2 separate regions of the Homo sapiens genome follow, and region 1 is linked to region 2. The links are contacts of gene promoters, found by promoter capture Hi-C in human tissues and cell types (Jung and others, 2019). All regions are on one chromosome and are shown on one strand. Each heading gives the region's core, a stretch centred on a gene start or on the middle of the fragment in contact. The rest is flanking DNA. Distances are from core to core; before and after follow the strand shown.

Region 1 (4,641 bases), core at 1,217-3,716, 920 kb after region 2:
ACCCCAAAAGCCAGCCATCCTGGACAGCAGGATGCACAGGGAGTGGGTAGCAGGGCTTTGCAGCCTTTGTGGGGACTGGTAATTTGCCAACTCTACCCCAAGGAGAGAACTCCCCTCTCCCACCTGGTAACCCCACGAGTTCCCAATGGACTGAGTTTGTCTCCACCTCCACCAATCACACTGCTAACATGAGGCTTTTGGAGGGTTTGGAGGATTGGAGGAGGTTTCTCTCTCTACTCACCTCTTTACTTACTAGTAAGAGCTCATGTTATGTTAAACTATTTCTAAATTTCGTGAACCTGCAAGTTCCTAGTAGAGGCAGCAGAGAGAAAAGCATGGGCCCAAAATAGCAATTCTGGAAATGAGCGTACACCCAAAAAACTTTAAGGAAGGTGACTTGTCTGAGCTATAAGGGGAGGTGATGAGTCAGCCCCAACCCCCACATCAGCAACTTCAGACTCACATTTGCAAGACTAAGAAGAAAAGAAATAAATCCAAAAGGAAATACAAGAAGCATTAAAGAAAATAACAAAGGATAAAACTGGAATTGATTATATCCTTTCACTCAGTCTTCATAAAAGGAGACATACTGTGTGGCACTGCCGTGATCCAATCACATTGACTTTCTTCCCATGGCTTACAGGTGGTCAGGAGTACCCCTCTGGAGTACTGGAAGGCCCTGCTTTTGCGTGACTCTCAGGCAAGGCCCAGCTCTGGGCCCCAACAAGCACCCCAGGCCTAAAAAGCAGAAGGCACTTGAAGGGAGAGCACAAGCAGCCCTTGGGCCCCGTCCGACCTCAAATAAAACTTAGGCCAAGGGCTGCTATGGAATCACGTCTTGTGTTACCAAAAATCCAGTCTCGAAATAAATCAGCCCTATCAGTGCATGCCATGCCATGCCATACCACCCACCCAAGTCTAGGGCAGCTGAGCAGGGATTTCTCAGGGAAATAAAATGGGAAGCTCCAAACGACAAAGGGGAGCTAAGAGCATATGGTTCTGGGCTTGGGAGTAACCGCCAGCTTAGCTGAAAAGCTCTAAGGATGACCAGAGGCTTCCATGAAGCCCCTGCCAGAACCTTCACCACACACACAACCAACAGCTCAGCCAGTTGCCAAGGCAACAGCAACCTAGACATGTTTAGGCATCTGTAGAAACCAGAGCAAAGTACAATTTCCACACTTGTGATAAAAATGCAGCCCCCAAAGCATCAAGCAAAGCATCACTCTAAAATTTTGTTTTACTGACAGAAGAAGCAGGACTGGGAGGGGAAGCAGGAAGCTGGGCAGCGCCTGGCAGAGCCAGTGCAGTCAGACGAGCCCTGAAGTGTGGGCACAAAAACCTGCCTGTGCTTGGGAAGCAAGACACTTGTATGCCTGTGCTGTTTGTGGCTGTTTCCTCTTATGTCTACCTTCCTGGGTAGTCAAGTCTCTTCATTTTGTTGTGAACATCAGCTTTTCTTAGCTGGGATAAGAGGAACCAAGAAAAGTAAGCTTTTGCCCACAGTAAGGCAAGAGAACTAAAAGGGAAACAGCCCCTGTGGGGAGAGGGTAGACATGGTGGAGGCATCGCAGGAATTCTAGGGAGGGGACCCAGGGGTAAGCACTAAGGTCAGCTGGCCTGACCACTGCTCCCCACCTGGAGCCCCTCTCTGTCCCTGCTAAGCACCTTGTCCTTTGCAGACCCTGGCAAATGAGCCACCAGGAAAACAGGACACCACTCAGTCTGAGAGTGAATACCTAAGGGACAGTGGAGGGTAGGAAAGTCAGTCCATGGGGAGGGGACATGGTGACAAGTTCCACAGCAGACCAGAACAGAAAAACAAACAAGCAAACAAGGCAAGCAAGCACCAGTGCTATAAACTTCCCAGGTTCCCTTTGAGATGCTTGTCTCTGGAGATGAACAGAGCCAGGAACCCCCATGAGAGCAGCATCTAGAAGCTAGAGATGAACTCTAAAGGACCACACGACCCCCAGGCTGCCTGGCAGAAAGAACCCTGCAGAGTCTTTCCAATATGCATCCCTTAAGTGAGGAAAAGAAAGCTAGAGAAGGTCTGTGAGATACCTACCGCGATGGCTGAGCTGATGCAGGAATGTGGCCATAAGCACTCACAACCTTGGGAACGTGGAACATTAGCTCCAAGGATTAATCATCAAGTAGTAAGGATTTTCTAAAACAGCGTTCCTTGCTCATCAAAGTATGGCAACCAATTCAAGTAAAATGATATCCAGAAACTTAGGAAGGAAATGTGACTCATTTAAGAAACCCTCACAGAACTTTCTTATCTCACAGATACTTGGAAGTTCTAAAGGCCAAGGCAGGCACTTTAAAGAGAAAGAATCCCCATTTTTTCACCCAAAAAATCAGAAAAATACACTTACAAGCAGCAAGACAGGCTTTCAAAACACTCTTAAGGTGTTCATACCCTTTAATACAAGATTTCTATTCTCGGGAATTTATCCCCAGGAACTAATTACACAGATGAAAAAGGATGAAATTATAAACTGCAAATTCATCTACATTAGCAAAAAAGTGGAAATAACCTAAAATGTCCAGCACTAGGGAATGTTTTAATCTCATTACGTCAACAGGATAATATAACCATTAATAATCTTTTTGAAGATGAAGGTAAAACATGGAAAATACTTGAGAAAATATTTAAGTGAATCTGAATAATACAATTATAACAATGTCAGTTATTGAAAAGGAAACAGCGAGGTCAGTTCAAGCTCCAGATCTCTCCCATCTACAAACTGGATGGCCTTGAACTAGGCACCTGATCTCACTACCTACAGCTTCCTCACATTCAAACTAACAACCTCGAAGTGTTGCCTTGAGGCAGGACAGAGACAACGTACCTCTCTTGCCTCTTCTGAAGCTTGGTACAAAGTTGGCAGGGAATAGGTTACTTGATCAAGATACACAAAAACCACTTTGTGCGTGGAAGGTAAACTACAAAGAGTTTTTTACTCAGAACATTGTTTTCTATGTTGAACCTTCAATTTTTAAAAGATTTAAAGAAAGCAAAAAAGAAGTCATTTGACACAAAAGTGATGATTATCCCAAGCATAAAAACAAATATCGGCTGGGCGCGGTGGCTCACGCCTGTAATCCCAGCACTTCGGGAGGCCAAGGCAGGCGGATCACGTCAGGAGATAGAGACCATCCTGGCTAACACGGTGAAACCCCGTCTCTACTAAAAATACAAAAAATTAGCTGGGCGTGGTGGCGGGCACCTGTAGTCCCAGCTACTTGGGAGGCTGAGGCAGGAGAATGGTGTGAACCCAGGAGGCGGAGCTTGCAGTGAGCCGAGATCGCGCCACTGCACTCCAGCCTGGGCGACAGAGCAAGACTCTGTCTCAAAATAAAACAAAACAAAACAAATATCTGCTCTAATATACCTGAGCAAATGCTCTTATGTGATATCACAACGTTGACAAAATGTGAAGACCTTTCGCAATTTTACAAAGTGCAGTCCTCTACAGAAACACAATTTCTTCTCCCTTGTCTACCTGCTCTTTAACAGCATAAGATGCCTTTTAAAATGCATCTGCCGAAGATGAGGCACTCCTAAGCCAGGGCCTCTGGAATCTTCCTCCTGTCCCACGTGGGATGCATCATGGGGTGGGTGTACCAGCGAGTCACCCACGGCCTTGACCGCACCCCAGCAGCTCTCCCTTTTGTGCCCTTATCTCCCTGCTGTGTAAATGGTTGTAAACTTTCAGATTATTGAAACCAAGTTAGTTACAGACATAGATGCCGTCTTAAGCAAAGGACACACATAATCTCCCTCATGTCTATGTTTCTCAGAGGTGGGGGAGAAAGATTAATTATCTTTTAAAGATGTTCACATCTGAGAGTGATTCACAACTTACTTATTCCAGCCAGCCAGAGGAGGTGAAATGAGTGTGGGCTTCGGTAGGCAGAGCACCAGCTCTGATGGTGACCCTCTGAAGGCCACTGAATCTCTCTGAGCTTAGGTTTACTGATGGATCAAGTGGAGAGAACACTATCTGGTTGCAAGAATTAAATGGGCAGGAATGTAAAGCTTCTTGAATGGTCCCTCAGAAACTTCAGAACATGGGGGCCTGTGCAGACAGCCCCTCACCACTGACTCTGCACCCCCCACGCACATCCTCCTTGGTGGCACATGCCCAGTCTCCTTATCTGATGACACATTTGCAGGAGCAAAGGTCGCAATTGCTTAATTAAAGCATCACCACGTGCGAGCTAAGTGGCGAGCAGGCAGCCAGCTCCAGCCAATCAGACAGCTACAGAACCCACTAATAGCGGGCTTGGACGTCTGTACAGGGAGCACTGCCTGCTCTGTGGTTCCTCTGAAGACCACAATTCATGATCTTGGCACGCTCGGTTGGCGACAACATAATTTAATATAATGAAAGACAAATGCAGTTTAAAACATGAAAATGCTCACAAACTACGGTTTGGGTATCACTTTACATTAAGAAGATTTCATTTCATTCAATAGGAAACTTCAGAATACACAGTTGATCCTATCTAAAGACCACCCTGCAGGTCCAGGCAGAGGCCCCGTCACAGGCCTCCCTGGGCGCTCTGGGCTTGGGCTCAGAGGCCCATATGGGGTCCTGGCAGGTGGCCTCAGGCAAAACCACTCACCCC
Region 2 (5,253 bases), core at 2,691-5,190:
GTAAGGACAGCTGGACTAAGTGCCGTTCATGATGCTGGGGGCACCCACATTCAATGGCTGTGGTTAGCTCTTCTCAGCTGTACCCTGGGTTTGTGCCACACTCTTGTGTACAGAGTAGCTCCCCATCTGGCCCTGAAGGCTGCAGATTGAGACAGAAAAATAATGTTTTATCTGAGGAATTGGAGCCCCTTTAAATAATCAGGCCCAGACATACTGAAACGCAACAGCTGTCAAGTCTTACTCCTCCCTTGAGCTAAAGAATTATCTCTTTTTCTTTTTTTTTCTTTTCTTTTCTTCATGTCAGATCGGTAATGTGCCTACATGGTAACAAGGTTCGAGGGTGGCACAGCTCACACATGCATGTGAACACCCAATCATCACGCTCATGAACTACAAAAGGATCAAGAATTACCTCTTGAAGCCACTTGCTATGTGGCTCTAGAGTGACACCAAGTAGCCATAAAATGCTGTACACTGGACACCCTATAGTTCATACCCTATAGTTCAACAATGTATAGCCAATCACTAATCAATGTTATTTCTTTTTTTTTTTTTGAGATGGAGTTTCTCTCTTGTCACCCAGGTGGAGTGCAATGGCACAATCTTGGCTCACTGCAACCTCTGCCTCCTGGGATCAAGCAATTCTCCTGCCTCAGCCTCCCGAGTAGCTGGGATTACAGGCACCCACCACCGTGCCTGGCTAATTTTTGTATTTAGAGACGGGGTTTCACCATGTTGGCCAGGCTGGTCTCCAACTCCTGAGCTCAGGTGATCCACCCACCTCGGCCTCCCAAAGTGCTGGGATTACAGATGTGAGCCACCGCACCCCACCAATCAATGTTATTTCTATAAACCAAGGAGAATTCCTGCCAAACAACTTTGTCATCCTTGCCCCCTTCTGCCTATAAAAACCTGTAGGAAAGGCCCAACGCAGCACACCCCACGGCAACTTAGAAGTTTGTTCTGGGCAGTTATCCTTACTCTCGCTCAAGTAAACTCTTTAAAGTTATATTTGTGCCTCAGCTTCTGCCTGTAGGTCAATAAGATTCAACAGCTATATGCAAATAAGAGGCCAGTAGAGGCCCAGGAGGGTCATGGAAACCCTGGAAGCTTGGCCTCAGAGTTGGAGTTGAGAGGACCCCAGATGAGGGGATAGTTTAAGCACAGTGGTTTCGATGGGTCTGGGGTCCATTTCAGCTCAGCTGGGGCCTGTTTCTTTGGATTTTAGAAAGCCGTGCCCAGGTCCTGCCATGCCTCCTGTCTGATGCAATCTCGTTATTCTTTTCTCGAAGTCCGCCAGTGTCCAGTTTTTTTTGCATGATCCTCACGACATCCCTTTGAGAGAAAAGGAAGGAAAGACGAGCCCACTTCTCAGGAGACTTTAGGGACCTTAGGGACACAGCAAGCGAGTAGGAGTCCCAGGGCTGGGGTCCAGGTTGCCTCTGGAGCCGGTGCTGTTCCCCAGGAGGGCACGGAACCACCTCCCTCTCTGATCTGCTGCCATCTCTCTTGCCTCACAGTTCCCGTGGGAGCCATGAAGCTGAACGAGAGGAGTGTAGCCCACTATGCACTCAGCGACTCCCCAGCGGACCACATGGGCTTCCTGCGCACCTGGGGGGGCCCAGGGACCCCACCGACCCCCAGTGGCACTGGCCGAAGATGCTGGTTTGTCCTCAAGGGCAACCTGCTATTCTCCTTTGAGAGTCGCGAGGGCCGGGCCCCACTGAGCCTGGTGGTGCTGGAAGGCTGCACAGTGGAACTGGCCGAGGCTCCCGTGCCCGAGGAGTTTGCCTTTGCCATCTGCTTTGATGCCCCTGGAGTGCGCCCACACCTGCTGGCCGCAGAAGGGCCGGCGGCCCAGGAGGCCTGGGTGAAGGTGCTGTCCCGGGCAAGCTTTGGCTACATGCGCCTGGTGGTACGCGAGTTGGAGAGCCAGTTGCAGGACGCACGCCAGAGCCTGGCTTTGCAACGCCGCTCATCCTGGAAGTCTGTTGCCAGCCGCTGTAAGCCCCAGGCTCCTAACCACCGAGCTGCGGGCCTGGAGAATGGCCACTGCCTCTCCAAGGACAGCAGCCCTGTGGGCTTGGTTGAAGAAGCGGGCAGCAGGTCTGCAGGGTGGGGGTTGGCTGAGTGGGAGCTGCAGGGCCCTGCCAGCCTCCTCCTAGGCAAGGGGCAGAGCCCTGTGTCCCCTGAGACCTCCTGCTTCTCTACCCTGCATGACTGGTATGGCCAGGAGATCGTGGAGCTGCGGCAGTGTTGGCAGAAGAGGGCCCAGGGGAGCCACTCAAAATGTGAGGAACAGGATAGGCCCTAAGTCTGGGCCCTTTGAGTCAGGAAACCAGGGCCAGTTCTTTTTCAGGAGTTAAATGTTTACCCATTTCCAAGGTTGCGTTTTGGGAGGGGACATGGGTTCTCTCCTTCCTGCTATTTAGGCATTCTCCAGGTTCGAGATCCACCCGTGTGTCTGGAAGGGACTGCGGGACCATTCCTTCCATCCTCTTTATTTCCTGAGGTCCAGAGAAGGAAGGAGACTTAGCAGCCACAGAGCAAGACCCCAATCTCCTGACTGCACTGGCCTGACTGCCCCCTCCCAGGGGATGTTAATGAAATGAAGGAAGTGGGGAATGTCACCCGAGACTGTCACAGGCTTGCCATACCTTTGGCCTACACACCGGGCTCTAGAGCCATAATTTCCAACCTGGGGAGTCTCCTGTGCACTTAAATCCGAGGTAGGCTGCAGTATCGGCTTGAAGCTCTGACACTGTCAGAGAAAGTGGATTTATTGTGTCATAGGAGTTTCTGGGACCCAGCTCTTCCTGAGAGGGGTGGGAAGATTGGGGATGGGATCCTCACTCAGCAGTCTGGGTAGGGCCCTTTGAGGCAGAGGGTCTTCGGCCAGTGAAGAGAGATTTATTCTGCTCAGAGTGCTGGGGTCCCATCCTTTCTCCCTGGCTGCCCTGTTAACAGATGGTGCTGGACCTTGCCCCGGAAGGGGCTTGTAGCTTTTTTACGTCAACGAAATGCCCTCCTGTACTCTGTCTTCAGCAGCCAACTCCTGGAGCTGCCAAGTGAGGGGTTAAAGAAGAGGTGGGGAGGCAGTGTGGCTCCCTGGGAAAAGTCTGTTGCTTTGGTTCTCAGTCCTGGGTATTCTAGGAGCTTGGACACGGGATTGCGTTTCCTGTGCTAAAATTCTCTCTCCTGGCTGGGCTCCGGTAAACTGAAGCTGCTCGAGAAATCACCTGGGAACTCTCATAGCCGTTTGTCACCCAGGGTGTACTTGCCAGGACCTCTCCTTGCTACTCTTCCCAAAGTCGGGAGGCAAAGCGGCTGGGTCACCAGAGCCTGACCATACTGACGCTCCAGGGGGAAGACGCAGAGGCCGGGAAGAGACACCCCCTCCCAAACACATAAAACTTGCCCCTTCCTAGCCTCGGCTCCCCTCACTGGGGCCTTGGGCAGGACCGACCCGCATCCAACTAGGCCTAAGGGGTAGGCTCTGAGCCTCTTACCCCTAAGAGGCGGAGATGCGCCCAAGGCGGGCGCCCGGCCTGTTCCCCAGCCCTGCCTGGAAGCCCCGCAGCCACTGCATTTTGTTTAAACACAGATAGCACGGGCCTTTCTCTTATTGCTACAGTGTTTTGTACACGGTTAAAACACTAGTAAAGCTTTTTCGTTATTACTCCTTCCGCTCCCTGGGTTTATTTCCACAACCGGCCGCTGAGGCCTGTTCTGACGGCCGGGCGGACCCAAGACCGCGGCCACGCCCAGCAGGACGCGGACTGAGGGAGCCGGGGCTGCGCCGCCACTCTCGTGACGCCACCATGCCGGCCAGTGACAAACACCTCCCTCCCGCCGCCCCAGGAGCCGCCGGCACTGCGCGAGTGGGAGGGCTGGGCTTCTCGTGTACTCCTCAAACTCTCGCGAGGCTTCGGGCGGCTTTCTTCCCGAGGGCGGCACGAGGGCTGGGCGGTGGGGTGCGGGTGCCCGGGTGAGGGGCGGAGCTGGGGGCATGGCGTCCGGAGCGGCTCGCTGGCTAGTATTGGCACCCGTCAGGTCCGGGGCTCTCCGGAGCGGGCCTAGCTTGAGGAAAGATGGCGATGTCTCCGCCGCATGGAGCGGCTCAGGCCGGAGCCTGGTACCGTCGAGGTCAGTCATCGTTACCCGCAGCGGCGCCATTTTGCCCAAACCGGTGAAAGTGAGTGTCCTCCTGGAGACGGGGCGAAGGGGCTGAGGCCAATCATTGTGGGGAGTGCGTGAGGGCGGCGCTGATTGATAGGAGCCAAGGCCAATCATAACGATTACCGTAGACTGGAAGGCGGACCAAGAATACGCTAATGAGTTGCTAATTTTGACAGGTGTGTAGAAAATGGTAGGTAGACAGAAGATGGGGGGCAAACGCTGAGGAAGTTGGCCTTTTACATTAGCTTGTCCTGAGAGGTGCGGTGCTCTGCTCCTCTGGAGTCAGAAGACTAGGCCGTGTGCTTCTAGCTTAGAGCAGTCCTGTAATCTCTGCCCTGCCTGTCTCCTAGTTTATGGGATGAAATATGAATTTTGAAAGGACTCTGTAAATAAAGGGTACGTGGGACGGGCCTCATCTTTTTATTAGTTGTCACCTAATATTTAATTCATGTGATTTACAGTCCTGATAGATGTGCAGGGAATTATTACAATCACGGGTTTTCAAATGAAGAATCGGGCTAGAGCGGTGAAGCTCGTATCCAAGGCCAGCGCTGAGGACGCAGCATCCGGGTTTCTTCCTGGTACCGTCCCCACCAGGTCCTGTCTTTTTCCAACACTGAACGCTATCACATGCTTGAGTTTTTCTAGGGAAAACGGAAACAGTCCCTTATATCAAGCGAAAGTTTGCTTTACGACTGCAGGGCTGTGTGGTGTGGGAGTTAAAAAAACAAATTCTCTTAAAGCTAGTCTAGCCTATGCTAACTCACACAATTGACTGTAGGTCCATGTTGGGAAAGACCTGCCTTATCAAAACAGTTGAAAAAAAAATTTTTTTAATTCTAGGAATACGAGAGAAATGTTGCTGAGATTTTACTGACATTCTCCCAATCCATCTAAAGTCTTTGAGTGTAAATACATGCCCACTTTCAAATACATCTGTTTCTAAAATTTTTAAATCAAATTTCTCAGGCATCAGGGAACCTGTTACTTAGTGAACTGTGTAGAATATCCCTTCACTGTACATCTTTCTGTCATCGGTTTTCGTGTATTTCGTGTTCAGGCAGAGCTCACCGT

The links. The method cuts DNA at HindIII sites, captures the fragments that hold promoters and counts their contacts. A contact is called where the count stands out against the background at its distance.
Region 1: a contact is called between a fragment that was not itself captured here and the fragment with the promoter of SMDT1 in region 2, in 1 of the 25 tissues and cell types used here (lymphoblastoid cells).

Annotation. Positions count from the first base shown.
Region 1 is chr22:43,000,242-43,004,882 of GRCh38, forward strand. All of the region lies in intron 1 of PACSIN2 (protein kinase C and casein kinase substrate in neurons 2), which reads right to left. Among named protein-coding and RNA genes, the nearest start is that of PACSIN2, 13 kb to the right of the region's middle. RefSeq lists an enhancer at 1,326-1,505 and a silencer at 4,200-4,299. The HindIII fragment of the contact is 3,845 bases long and covers 545-4,389 here.
Region 2 is chr22:42,075,760-42,081,012 of GRCh38, forward strand. It overlaps SMDT1 (single-pass membrane protein with aspartate rich tail 1), which reads left to right and starts at 3,941. Exons shown (of 3, transcript NM_033318.5): 1 at 3,941-4,195. The coding sequence starts at 4,010. PHETA2 (PH domain containing endocytic trafficking adaptor 2) reads left to right here. Exons shown (of 3, transcript NM_001002034.3): 3 at 1,521-3,679. The coding sequence starts at 1,535. The coding sequence ends at 2,314. It also overlaps the pseudogene SNORD13P1. RefSeq lists enhancers at 1,883-2,445, 3,686-4,458 and a silencer at 3,366-3,660. The HindIII fragment of the contact is 9,212 bases long and covers 2,780-5,253 here.